3 separate regions of the Homo sapiens genome follow, and regions 1 and 3 are each linked to region 2. The links are contacts of gene promoters, found by promoter capture Hi-C in blood cells and fetal thymus (Javierre and others, 2016). All regions are on one chromosome and are shown on one strand. The core of a region is centred on a gene start or on the middle of the fragment in contact, and the rest is flanking DNA. Distances in the headings are between cores, read along the strand shown. Region 1 overlaps DCP1A (decapping mRNA 1A). Region 2 holds the start of CCDC174 (coiled-coil domain containing 174). Region 3 holds the start of ZDHHC3 (zDHHC palmitoyltransferase 3).

Region 1 (4,584 bases), core at 1,181-3,680, about 39 Mb before region 2:
CTAGTTTTTCACAAAGGCTTTCAATATTTTAAAATTTTACATTGTGGAGTTCTGTTTTAAATATGAAATACAAGCTATAATAACCTGAATTGAAAAATAAGCTGCTACTGTTTATTTGGATCCTGGCACATAGAGCATGACAAAAATCTTTTCCCTCTTTATTATTTTACAGTGAGTTGTAACTTTGCATGATGTTTTTTGGTGGGCAAATTTTCTTTTACTGTAAGACAGTTGATTACCAGTTTCTTATAGTAATAACCTAACATTTTAAAGGTAAGAAAAAGCCTCTGAATCCTTAGGAAGGAAAATAATGATATTTAAGCTAGGGTAGTACTTCTGGAAGAAATCGAGATGATCAATTTTCTAAATTTTTTAATCCCAACACATTCAATATATGACTAACATTTAAAATGTTAATAATGCGTTGATTACAGTAAAATATTTAGGTCCATTGTAGGCTGTAAATTGCAGACTAATAAGCTTATTTATTTTTTAAAAAACACTGAACTGTGTTTAAAACCTAAATACACTCTTGTCACAGAAAATGAACTATGGTAAAGGCCTCCAATAATTACACTGAGGCAGGGTATACTTTCAGTATTCAAGATTCTTCAAGTTCTAAAAATAACAAGCTGATTTTGTTTGGTAGTAATTCTTAACCACAAAATTTGCTAGTTGTCAAAATGTACGAAAACTCCCTAGTGATGAAACAAAGTATCCTATAAGAAAGTTTCATTCCTTTCCTTTTTTAAAATTAACTTGGATAAACTTAAAAGAGAAGAAATTGCAGTATACAGGACCTTAGCTTTAAAGTTAAGAAATCTGGCTAAAATATTTTAGCTATAAAAAGTGAAGGTTTATTCTATGATTTTCTCCTTTACTAATTAAAAAAGAAAAATACTGCAGATACAGATATGTTGCTGGATTAAATATTGCATATGCTTATGCACTGAAAGGATACATTAGAAATGGTAACCACAATTTGTGGAATGAGAGGGAGACTTTACCTGTTCAAAAGTGGTTAATTTTATAATAGATGAAATGAAACAAGTTGATCTTAAACGTGAAGCATTACTTCTCCATGGGGACTATTTGGGGTCTGATTATGGGGAAAAAAAACTAATTGAGTCATTGTCTTTCATAGGAGAAGACTGATATAGAAGGGACCTTATTCGTATATCGAAGGTAAGTTTTTAAAATATGTATATTTGTTTTTAACAGTCTAGTGGTGAACAATGTGAAACGGTTCAATTCTCTTGTACATTTGTCTTTGGAACCGTCCTGCTAGTACCCTTCAAGTTTTCATCTTTCCCTAGCTGTGAAATCTTAACCAGGTTCTTTCTTTTCTCTGAGCCTTTCTGTGATTCAGAATAAACTGAACTAGAATTTATATTACCAGCCTAGCAAAGCAATTTCAAAATAATAATGATTGAGTCTAAAATGGATGCCTGCGTCTCTCTTCCTACCCCCATATTAGAAAGAAAAAGAAAGATATATATTTGGGGAAAAGACAATACATAGACTGGCTCTGTAAAATAATGTTATTGAGAGGTCGATCCCTCTGTTCTTTCATTACTACATGAGTGGTTGTCTTTTATGACTGGTTCTGTCCTCTTTCCCAACCCACAGAAGTTCTGGATTATGTACAGTGTCTTATTTGAGAGTTCTTTAGAAAGCTTGGATTATTCATGATGGCGTATTTTTTATTTTTGACTTATTCAAAAATTCATTATCTTTAAGATTGGTTTGCAAATTGCAACTTTTTTGTTAGGCAGCTTTTGGGGCCTAAAGACAACTGACAGTATATGATAGTCATGGGGTACTTGTTTTCCTGGATTCCTCTAAGGTCTTAACTCTTACAAGGGCAGGTTCCTTCCCTTGTTTTCTAAAGCTTAGGGAGTCAGCAGGAGTTATTACTGATATCTGGTCTTTTCCCTTTTTTTTTTGTATTGAGTTGCTTCATAAGGATTGCCTTTCTCCATTGATGCCAATTTAAAAGAATTTGTCAAATACTCTTCTAAATTTTGATACAAAGCTTTGAGATCTCGTCTAAATGCACTCATTTTTTTCTTCTTTTAAGTGTAATTCTTTGATATTTGTACACCAAGCTCTTTTTTCTTAGACACTTTCTTTGTTCCCTGCTATTCATCTTTCTGCTTTTAAAAAGGAAGGGATCGGCCGGGTGCAGTGGCTCACGCCTGTAATCCCAGCACTTTGGGAGGCCGAGGTGGGCGGATCACGAGGTCAGGAGATCAAGACCATCCTGGCTAACACGGTGAAACCCTGTCTCTACTAAAAATACAAAAAATTAGCTGGGCATGGTGGCAGGCACCTGTAGTCCCAGCTACTTGAGAGGCTGAGGCAGGAGAATATCGTGAACCCAGGAGGCGGAGCTTGCAGTGAGCCGAGGTCGTGCCACTGCACTCCAGCCTGGGTGACAGAGCGAGACTCCCTCTCATAAAAAATAAATAAATTAATAGGAAAGGATCTTTACCCTCACTCCCTTCATTACTCTTCATTAGCAATATAAATCTCTAGAAACTCTGTTATTAGAACCTTAGTTTCTATGATATTTGGTAAAAGTACTTTACTGGCTTTATTGTTATCATACAGAGGCACTGATTGTAGAAAGTAGGAGATTTAGTGTAGTGGGTGGCTGGATTTAATACAATTCACGGAGGCTTATATGGTACTGATTCTAATTAAAGGAGACGCAAGAAACTGTGTTTGGAAAATGTGAGACTATTTTGCGTACCTTGGATAAAGGTATACCAGGATGTCAGACTGTCACTTTGCAGCTATTACTTCATATAGTAGAAGCTTGGATTTGGAGTCAAAAAACCTGAAACTGAATCCTAGTTATATTATTTGTAACTCATTATTTGTGTGACCTCAGGCACAGGCCTTATCATTCAAAGCTTGTCTCCTAATCTATAGAATAGTGTTCTGTTAACACCCCGGGTATATCGTAGAGAAACAAATGAAAAACGGTGAAGTGTTAGGTACATGTGAAGAGTAAAGGATCATGTACCGAATCCCTCTGATATGGGAACCAAGGATGTTTCCTATTGTAGGATTCAAGGCATTTTCCGTCTAACTCAGGAGCGCTATGTAAATATCTATTTGTTGCAAGAAAAACATTATTGTAATGATGGGCAGCCATTATAGCCAATCCAATTGAATGATATTTCATTCAGCAACTGTGTGTCTATCTTGGGATATATGTATGAAAAAAGTAAGACAAAAGCTCCATTTGCATGGGGCTTACATCCTAGTGGGGGGAGGACAATAAATACTAAAAATAAGTGGTATGGATAAAAGAGGAAGGTTAGAGATATTGAGCTTGGGAGCATTAAAAAGGATAGTTCAAGTAGGCCTCATGAAAAAGGTGACATCTGAACAAAGGCTTGGAGGAGATGAGATAGCTGTGCAGCTTCTGGGGCAGTAATCCAGGAAGAGGTTTTTAGGTAGAAGCACACACGCAGAGAGAGTGGCAAGGAGCCCGGTGTGGCTGGAGAGTAGGAGCTGGAGAAGAGCCATAGGAAATGAAGTCAGAGTGGGGAGTATATCAGGTGGGGCCTTGGTGGCCTCAGTAAGGACTTTGGCCTTTACTCTGAGAGACTGTCTTTGGAGACTTCTCGTCAGAGGAGGAGTATGATCTGACTTAAATTTTTTGTTTACAGATGTAAGTGCTGATAATATTGTATAATGTTCTAATGCATTCTTTTTTGAAATGAAAATAAAGTACATAGTAGATAACATTTCTACAGATTAAATGGTAACTACATATTTTTTTTTCTTCTATTAAATCTAAGGTCAGCTTCCCCTTACCATGGTTTTACCATTGTGAATCGACTAAATATGCACAATCTAGTTGAACCAGTGAATAAAGATTTGGAATTTCAGCTCCATGAACCATTTCTTCTGTATAGAAATGCAAGCTGTGAGTATATCTGTTTTATTATAGTTATTACATTTAAAATTGAGTGACTTTAGTTTCTATCAATCCATTATTTAGGAAGTTTCAAATTACAAAACAAAATATGGTCTCTACTTAATGATTATAAATGAGTCTGTTGGAAAGATCAAACCTTTTAAACTGGGCTCTGAGGCCAGAGGTGGTGGCTCATGCCTGTAATCCCAGCACTTTGGGAGGCCGAGGAGGGCAGATCACTTGAGGTCAGGAGTTCGAGACCAGCCAGGCCAACATGGTGAAACCCCGTATCTACTAAAAATACAGAAAAAAATTAGCCGGGCTTGGTGGCAGGCGCCTGTAATCACTTGAACCTGGGAGGTGGAGGTTGCAGTGAGCTGAGATCGCGCCACTGTACTCCAGCCTGGGCAACAGAATGAGACTGTGTCTCAAAAAAATAAATAAATAAACTGGGCTCTGAAACTGGAAACATTCTTTTGTATATAATTTAGTTTACTATTTCATTTAATAGCACTACATTTCTGTTGTCGGTTTATTAAAATAAGGTTTATGCCTTTGTTTTTTTGCAGCTGTGGACTATCAGCTGCCCATGTCCCTAAGCAACAGAACTTAGTTTGGGACACACAGGATGGGAACAGATACAGATAATT
Region 2 (4,818 bases), core at 1,615-4,114:
GTGTACAGATACCACTGACAATTTTAAAACACTTAAATATGGTATAATTCTCCCATGTTTGGAACCAATGGAGATAATTAGATCTTATTTTTTACCTTGTTAGTTGTTTTTGGTTTTCCAAAAACTCCAGAATCTTTTAGAAGTTTTTCTTGTTTGAATTCTTCTTGCTTTCGGAAGAGTTCAGCCTTAAGATCTACCAACTAGAATGAAAGCAGTAAGTAAACAAAAATATTAAATTCCTGCAGGTGACTGGATTGCTAAATTATTATAATTTCCAAAGGAATATTTCAAGTTCCGCTAAATGGACAAATATGGCTAAAAAACTAAATGTTTAAGTAACTAAATGTTTAAATGTAGAATCCAGTACACAAATTAAGCTAAGTCATGTTTCATTCTACCTCTGCTGCAAATGCATTTTTACTCTGACTTTCAACACTCGAGGCTTTCCTTAGGCAAGGAGAAAGTGATAAAGCAAAATAAATTAATAAAGTCTGCATCTTTTAGTTTCAGATTAAACTTGCATTATTAAGCACCTTCTCTCTGACTAGCACTGCACTCATTTCATCATCACAACTTATTTCTACAGTGAAATGCTGTAGAAATAACGCTGAAGAGCAGAACATAAACATGAATTAGACATACTCTCTGCCTCAAAGAGCCTACAATGTAACAAGGAAAGTAATTTATACTACCAACAAAATAAAACAAATGACTCTAGAGTGGAAGAAAGTAGCACATAAGTTCAGATAACAGAGCATTTCCTTCTGAGCAGAGTGATCAGAGAAAGCTTAGAGCAGAGCCTTTAAAGACACATTATTTCAACAGCTAGAAATAAAATAGACTGGGTGAATTATAACAGCTCCACGTTTGACTTAATCCATTTCAAAAACCGTAAGCTTGGCTGAATCACACGGTTCAAGAACAGGAAAGAAGGCCAAGGCATAGGGAGTGGGGCAGTTGGGTGAATATTAGTACCTTTCCCTCAGCTACATTAATTACCCCTGCCTACTCTGCAAAAAAGGATATAACAACAGTTTCCTTTTTAATGGTCCAGGTACAGCTGCTTATATGGATGGGCATTTGTAAATCAGATACTTCATCACTGTCTTAATCATCAGATACTTAAAAAAATCACTTTATTTGTTAAGGAAGATAAAAATGGCTGGGTTCAATTTCCGTTTTGGAAGAAATCGATTTAAAAGGTAACCATTTAATAATGCAAAGGGCAGTTTCACTGCAGACCCTAATACTGGAAATTTTTAAAAACAAATGAAAAACTTCTACTTTTTCTTCTAAGCTTACTTAACCACACCAAATTTTCCAGCCACATATCTTCCTAGTCTACAACTGCCTTTAACTTTAAGAGATGCTCAAAAAAATGTAAATTCTCAAATAGCATTCTTATTACAATTACTGCTAACCTGTCAGTATAGGTTGGCTTTAATATTTATAGCTTTCTGGTTCCTGATCTTCAAACAAAATAATAACTGGTACCAATTTTAACCAATAATAGTTACCAATAATAACTAGTACTCAAATATTGGGACACCTATATGTTTTCCTTCCTACTCACTTTGTGTCCTAATACTCTGAAGTAAATTCAAGATTAAATCAAAGGTTGGGCAATTTGCTCTGATGATGAAAAGGCAGCAGCTTTGGAGTCAAGTAGAGTGAGTGAGAAAGGGTCTATCACTAAGATTTCTTCCCCCCGCCCCCCGCCCCTTAGACGGAGTTTCGCTCTTGTTGCCCAGGTTGGAGTGCAATTGCGCGATCTCGGCTCACCGCAACCTCCGCCTCCCCGGTTCAAGCGATTCTCCTGCCTCAGCTTCCCGAGTAGCTGGGATTACAGGCGTGCACCACCACGCCCGGCTAATTTTTTTATTTTTAGTAGAGACGGGGTTTCTCCATGTTGGTCAGACTGGTCTCAAACTCCCGACCTCAGGTGATCTGCCCGCCTCAGCCTCCCAAAGTGTTGGGATTACAGGCGTGAGTCACCGCGCCCGGCTATCACTAAGATTTCTGTCTGTAAGCTGGGGAAAGCTACTTCATCTTTCCAGGCCTCAATTTCATCATCCATAAAACGGAGATATTAATAGCACCTACCTCCTAAAGCCATTGGGAGGATTCAATGAGATAGTGCATATAAAGTGCTGGCACAAAATGTGTACTTAGAACAAGTTTTCTTTCTAGAGTAGCTGATGTAATAAATCTGCTTACATCCTTTCAGACCTCACAACTCCCTATGCCTGCATTAACAACTGTTTAGTTCCAGGGAGGGCACGCTGGACACTTTCGGGTCCTGCGAAATATGTCACACTCTAAAGTTCTGGGAGGACTTTGTGGGTCCCTGGATGGAGGAGAAACCAGGAAGAGGATATGTCTGCATAGCAAAAAGAAGCTAGGGTTCCTCCTGACTGTAAGGGAGAAGGCTGACGAGGTGCAGGTCCTTGTGGGCAGGGCAGAGGTGAGGCACGGAGTTTCCTAACCCACGGGACACCAGGTTCAGATCCGTGTCCGAGGGTTCTGGCCCGGGCGCATGTCAGAGGAGAGTAGCCCAATTCAGGGTCCTGTAAGAAAACTGAACCGGATCCCCGCCGGAGAAGAAAATCCAGTTCGGGGGTTCCTGTTTGAGGGGAGAGGTCAGGTCTCTGGGTCCCCGAGTGAAGAAACAAGCTAGGTCGACATTCTTGTCTGATGGAGACACGGTGAACCCGGAGCCCGTGGAGTTACCTCATACCCTCACTCACCGAGGAGGCCGTGACGTCCAAAGGCTTTTTCCTACGGTCCATGGTCGTGGCAGAGGGTCCCGGTCCAGGAAGGACCCTTTCTACCCGACACAGGCCTCGTAAGCCTACCTCCGTCGCAACCGGAAGTGTCTTCGACAGCGACACTGAGTTTGCGTGAGTTTGCGACGCGAGTTTGTCAGCTCAGCGCCATCTTGAGAAGGTCAGAGTGTGGTGCGTATTACGTTCACCATCATTTTGGAAAGGTCATAGAGTGCGGAGGTTGACGCTAACTGCTAAGGTCATCTTGAGGGCGGAAGGTAACAAGGATTGGTGTGGGCGCCATCTTGAGAAGGGCGGAATAAAGCTTTTGATTGCGATGGACGCCATATTGGGTGGGGCGGATGTGGGGTTGGCGACAAAGATAACGCCATCTTGGGGAAGGCTGACGCTTAAGTAAGTGAACTCGAGCGTCTCGGGAAAGGTGGATTGGGAGGACCGGAAGAATCTTAACTGCAATTCCAGGACCTGCTGCCTGGCACTTTTCACACGTTAAATAGTTGGTTCTTAAAAGAGCGTACGAGATAAGGATTATTATATTAATCTTAGTAGAAATAACAAGAATAATAGCTAACATTAATGTAGTGCTTATTATGGGCCACTTTACATATTTCAGCTCTTAAGAACGTGAACTCCTGGGCCGGGCGCGGTGGCTCACGCCTGTAATCCCAGCACTTTGGGAGGCTGAGGCGGGTGGATCAGGAGGTCAGGAGTTTGAGACCAGCCTGACCAACATGGTGAAACCCCGTCTCTGCTGAAAATACAAGAAAAAAAAAAAATTAGCCGAGCGTGGTGGTGCGCGCCTGTATTCCCAGCTACTCAGGAGGCTGAGGCAGAAGAATCGCTTGAACCTGGGAGGTGGAGGTTGCAGTGAGTCGAGATCAAAAAAAAAAAAAACAAAGAACACGTGAACTCGAAAGCTGACTTTCTGGGTTGGAATCGCTCTTCACGGCTTACTGCTTGTGTGACCTTGGGCAAGTTACTTAACTTCCGTGTGCCTCAGTTTCCAAAGGGGGATATAATTTTATTTACCTAATGGGTCTTAGTGAGGATTAGATGAGTTAAATGAGCTAGTCTTGATAAAAATGTTAATGATTATGGTAGACAGACCAATCACCCTCACCCCGACTCCCAGATGTCTACCTTCTAATCCCCAGAATCTGGGTATATGGTGACCTTTATATAGCAAAAGAGAATTGGCAGAGATGATGAAATTAAAGCGATTGAGATGGGGAGCTAGCCTGGATTGTGCAGGTGGGTCCCCTATCATCAAAACCATCCTTATAAGGGGTAGACAGGATGGCCAGAGTCAGACAGAGATCAGAGATGCTTTGAAGAGGGAGAGTGGGACCACATGCCTAGGTATGCAGGAGGCCGCTAGAAAAAGCAAAGAAATGAGCCCTCCTCCAGAGTCTCCAGAAGGAATGCAGCATTGCTGACACGGTGATTTTAGTCTTGTAACACTCATCTCAAACTTCTGACTTCCAGAACTCTACCAGAATACGTTTGTGTTGTTTTAAGCCACCAAACTTGTGGCAATTTGTTACAGCAGCAAGACGAAAGTGATCATAATGATTGTAACAGTGGCATTTAGTATATGTGGGGCATGTGTATGACTCTTTGCATAGATTATATTATATAATCCTTGCAAGAATCCTAGAAGCGGACCTATTATCCACCATATTAGAGAGAAGAAAAATGAGACTCATCACATCCTCATCTCATCTGTCTTTATGGAGAAAATGGGAAAAGGGAAAAGGAGAGGGGAATTGAGGCAGTTGACTGTGTTCAGTCTTATTTATTTATTTTCATTTGTTTATTTCTCCAAGTCCGCCAGTCTCTGAAATTAGAACAGTAAGCAATATGAGATAATCGGGCCTAATAATGTTGTGATTCTCTTTTCTTAATGGAGTGGAATGTTCTGTCCCCACAAGAAGGATTATACCTTATAGACTTGTCTTGTTCAGATTCTGTATTTACCCATTTTACTGAAACACATACTAAATTCCATGTGTTTTTGTTACAAATCTTCTGA
Region 3 (4,333 bases), core at 398-2,897, about 30 Mb before region 2:
ACATGACAGAGTCACTACATCATGGTAAGCTCCGGTAACAAAGAAGACCAAAGGTTTTTAAATTTAGAGGAAAACGGTTATCCGTAATGTGTCCCTAAAAAAATACTTTGAGGATAAAAATCACCTGAACAAAGTGTATACAAAAATATAGCAGGGAAAGACATATCTAACTGCTTTTGGGCATTTTTATGCCCCCTCACACACAAATAACATACATGTTACCCTGTAATACACACATATGTCCCACTGTTGTTAATCCTGAATTATAACTAAAATATGCAACTGTGAGTTCTGACTTTATTATCCAGGCATAATATGCTAAATATTGGCATTTCTTCATATATAAAGGGCCCAGAAGATAACGGCAGGTCACGATTTTTAAATGGACATGTCCTTAACTCACGTTGTGGGACTTCAATGATAGCTGGCCGCTTCAATCCGATGGCTACATCACGGGACCACTGACTTTGCAGTTGGTACTGACAGAGGAAAGGCATGAGGAAAAGAGGTAGGAGCTGTCGCCAGAACTCTGCCAAGGATGGGATGAAGAACTCTGATAGGAGGACCACACCGTAGGTTAACAAGTGGAGACACAGCCGGAGGAGGATACAGGGTAGCTCGTTACCAGGTCCAACATTTTTCAACCCTCGTTCTGGAGTGGTCATAACCAGGGATTTAATATAGAACACAGAGGACATTAGGTTATAGCTGCCTAGGGATCTTAGTTCTTCATTGGCAAAATGGAAACAGCACTTAGGCTATCGGCTGCCTAGCCGCTTTTTTTTTGAGACTCGGCTCACTGCAACCTCCGCCTCCCGGGTTCAAGCGATTCTCCTGCCTCAGTCTCCCGAGTAGCTGGGACTACAGGCGTGCGCCACCACGCCCAGCTAAATTTTTTTGTATTTTTAGCAGAGACGGGGTTTCACCATGTTGGTCAGGACGGTCTCTTGACCTCGTGATCCGCCCGCCTCGGCCTCCCAAAGTGCTGGGATTACAGGCGTCCTAGCCGCTTTTTAAAAACCCTTCCCCCTTTATTTGTACGGCAATTTGTATTTTCAAAGTGCGTTCACCTCGCATGCGCCCTCCTAACCACGAGGTGAGGAAAAGCAGGCCAGAAGCCCACCTCCAAACTCCCATTTCCTCGAAGAGAAAACTGAGGCTCGGACAAGATCTGTGCGCGAACGCCGAATGGATGGCCCTGGGGCCGATGCTCTCTCACTAAGAAAAGGCCTCCGAGACTGCCCAAGCTTCCTGCCCGGGTTCGGAATCTTATAGACCCGCAAAACTGCAAATGCGCTAACAGTCCTAAAAACGTCCACGTTGCCAGCTCTGAATTGCAAACGCCGGCAGCAGAACCGTTTAATCACAAGGTAAACGGAGAGTCGCCGCAGCTCGGCTGCCTCCTCACTGGCAAACCCAGGGCAGGCCGCGACCCGCAGGGCCAGGCTGAACCCGGCGGCCGACCCAACGCCGCTGCTGTAGCTACCTGGACGCCATGCACGATGTACACCTTCTCCGCCTCGCTCAGCGTCACGGACGCCATGCTGCCGAGCTGCCCCACGAGCCGCACGTCATCTGCGCGCGTCCCCTCCTCTGGACCGCGCCCCCACGTCCCACCCCCCCCCGCCCCGCGTCAGCGCGTCATCAACCTGCGCGGCGGCCGCTCCTGCAGCCGCGGCCGCCGCCACTGCCGGGAGAGCTCGATGGGCTTCTCCTGCGCGCCGCCCGGTGTCTGGCCGAGTCCAGAGAGCCGCGGCGCCTCGTTCCGAGGAGCCATCGCCGAAGCCCGAGGCCGGGTCCCGGGTTGGGGACTGCAGGGGAAGGCAGCGGCGGCGGCGGCGGGAGCCCCACCGGGGTCTGGGACTGGGGAACTGCCTCCGGCTTCACGGTCAGTTGGGAAGGGAAACTGGGGTAGGGGTGAAGAAGCTGGGGTGAGGCGAGCCTCACGGGCCGGGGGACTCCCAGTGGGAGAGGCGTGCGGCGTAGTTGCTCAGAGCTGGAGTTGACTTAGGAGCGTGTGTGTGTGTGTGTGTGTGTGTGTGTGTGTGAGAGAGAGAGAGAGAGAGAGAGAGACCCCGACTAAGGAGGGGCGGACGTCGTGATTGGCCCGGGGGTGCTGTTTCCCTGCTCTTCTCCCCTCCATTTCTCTAGTCCCTAGGATGGCTGGAGAGGCGATGCAGCCCTCCCTAGGTAGTTCTTGGTGGGAAGGGTCCGGGAATGGGGGACACTAGTCCTAAGGCGTCCCCACCCCTCCACCCAGGAATATCTCTCGCTGGCTCGCTCACTCTCTGTGACCGAACGCTGTCCCATTACCTTGCTGGGACCTCTTGCCTCGGGTGCTTACCAGAGCGTTGTCCCACAGACGGGGGAGGAGGCGCTTGGTAACCGGCACTGGCGAGGTGCGCAGTGCCCGGACGTCCCCAACGCTTCCTAGCGGGAACTGGAAACCCCGGCTTGATGGAAGTGATTACTGGGAGCTGTGAGCAGTTGCCCGAAAAAAAGCCAACCCCAACCCCTTGCGATGGCCGAGTGGGAGTATGGGCATTGGATACCCGGAGAGGATATCTGCAAGGTGAAGCTGGGGTCACCAAAGGAACTCATTAAGGCGGGGCTGACAAAGTATGGTGCAAGTTTTAAAGGAGCCGTGTGGATAAATGGGAGAAAGTTAACCCAAATTAGTTGAAGCAAGGAGGGCAGGTTAAAGCAATTCTGATGACTTTCCTGATGTTCCATTTTTGAGGACCCTCAGCCAAAAAAAAAAAAAAATGGTATTTATCAGATAGTGGGTTCAAATACAGTTTCAGATAACTATTGGGAGCCTACTATAGATAGGCTTTGTGCTACCTTTAGAACACAAGACAAGTAAAACATACTATGCCCAGAGAAGTTCCCTGGGCAGATGAAGGCTCCAGGGCCAACATAACCACAGATCATGGTGGTTAGAGCTATGATGGTCGCATCAGTGGGCACAGTGGGATTGGGAGGTCGTCTGATAAGGTTATAGAGAGGAAGTGCTTGCTCACATTCTTAAGCATTAAACTGCTGAGCTCCAAAATTGATGATCAGTTCTTCGTAGACTGGACATTAGATGTTTCTTATGTCTCTACGTAATTCTCCACAGGGGCACCTAAAAGGAAGACAGCTTGCAGGGTTGGACTTTGCCTTCCAGGGAAACTGAAAGAGGTGAAGCCGGAAGGATTTCCTCCCTAATGAAGGCACAGGTGCCCCACCTGTTGTGGCACTTAGATGTGTTTGTGTGTGGTTGGACGGCTGGGTTTTATGTGAGGAGCTCTGTTGTGATAAGATAACATGAGATTGCTGATGTTATAAATGATATTTTCTAGATGTGCTAGAGATTGCTCAGAAAGGAGAGACCCTGGAAGTGGGATTTTAGAAGCTAGGATATCTGAGGAGACTGAGGATTTAAGAGGTGACAGCAAATGGACAGATCAGAAAGACACAGGAAGAAAAGCCTGAGTTCAGATACCATGGAGTTATCTTTATATAAAGATTTTCCAATGTCTTAAAATATAGAACATGTATTTGAACTGTCCCCCCCTCACAATTGACGGGAATTCCATACTGGACAAGGGTCTGCAGTATTTGCTAAATAATGTTATGAACGATGTCTTATATATTAGGCTAAGTAGGTAAGAGAGATGTAAACAGTAGAATGTTCCTTTTTAAATTGTCTACTAAAACAATGACAGTCTTCACTAATCATTCGGCTTAAATGCTGCCAGAACATTTTTATCACCTTTGCTGTAATAGTGCATTGGACGTCTTTAAAATCCATAAATTCTGAGTTCTTTTTTAGTGTATTGAAGTAATTCAAAGAACATATGATAACCAAAAAAATCAAGAAGTCAAGGATGGCACAGTATTAAACCGTCTTGTTTTTCCATCACTATTAGATTCATTTATTGAATGAATAAATGAATTGGGGCATACTATTCTGTAGGTTTGTGTATTCTAAAACCTTATACTCTAATTTTCAACACTAATTTACATAGTGCTTATTGTATGCCAAGCATTGTTCTAAGCACTTTATAAAGATTAACCAGGCTAGGTGCGGTGGCTGACATCTGTAATCCCAGCACTTTGGGAGGCCGAGGCCGGTGGATCACCTGAGGTTGGGAGTTTGAGACCAGCCTGACCAACATGGAGAAACCCCATCTTTACTAAAAATACAAAATCAGCCGGGCATGGTGGCGCATGCCTGCAATCCCAGCTACTCGGGAGGCTGAGGCAGGAGAATCGCTTGAACCCAGGAGGCGGAGGTTTTAGTGAGCTGAGATCACGCCATTGCACTCCAGCCTGGGCAACAAGAGCG

What was found. Contacts are between HindIII fragments. The CHiCAGO score rates a contact against its expected background, and 5 or more counts as called.
Region 1: a fragment that was not itself captured here is called in contact with the fragment with the promoter of CCDC174 in region 2 in 1 of 17 cell types (total B cells); the score reaches 7.0 in total B cells.
Region 3: a contact is called between the fragment with the promoter of ZDHHC3 here and the fragment with the promoter of CCDC174 in region 2, in 1 of 17 cell types (total B cells). The highest score is 6.7, in total B cells.

What each region holds. Positions count from the first base shown.
Region 1 is chr3:53,341,503-53,346,086 of GRCh38, reverse strand. It overlaps DCP1A (decapping mRNA 1A), which reads left to right. Exons shown (of 10, transcript NM_018403.7): 2 at 1,145-1,185; 3 at 3,816-3,943. Among named protein-coding and RNA genes, the nearest start is that of DCP1A, 3.7 kb to the left of the region's middle. The HindIII fragment of the contact is 785 bases long and covers 2,038-2,822 here.
Region 2 is chr3:14,649,808-14,654,625 of GRCh38, reverse strand. It overlaps CCDC174 (coiled-coil domain containing 174), which reads right to left and starts at 2,864. Exons shown (of 11, transcript NM_016474.5): 1 at 2,748-2,864; 2 at 96-200. The coding sequence starts at 2,789. It overlaps LOC124909347 (a long non-coding RNA gene), which reads left to right and starts at 2,505. Exons shown (of 2, transcript XR_007095826.1): 1 at 2,505-2,957; 2 at 3,400-4,818. RefSeq lists enhancers at 2,552-2,621, 2,762-3,161, 2,665-3,323. The HindIII fragment of the contact is 1,793 bases long and covers 1,300-3,092 here.
Region 3 is chr3:44,973,488-44,977,820 of GRCh38, reverse strand. It overlaps ZDHHC3 (zDHHC palmitoyltransferase 3), which reads left to right and starts at 1,647. Exons shown (of 7, transcript NM_001135179.2): 1 at 1,647-1,888. EXOSC7 (exosome component 7) reads right to left here and starts at 1,577. Exons shown (of 8, transcript NM_015004.4): 1 at 1,487-1,577. The coding sequence starts at 1,543. RefSeq lists silencers at 1,611-1,680, 1,801-1,900 and an enhancer at 2,123-2,667. The HindIII fragment of the contact is 4,817 bases long and covers 1,250-4,333 here.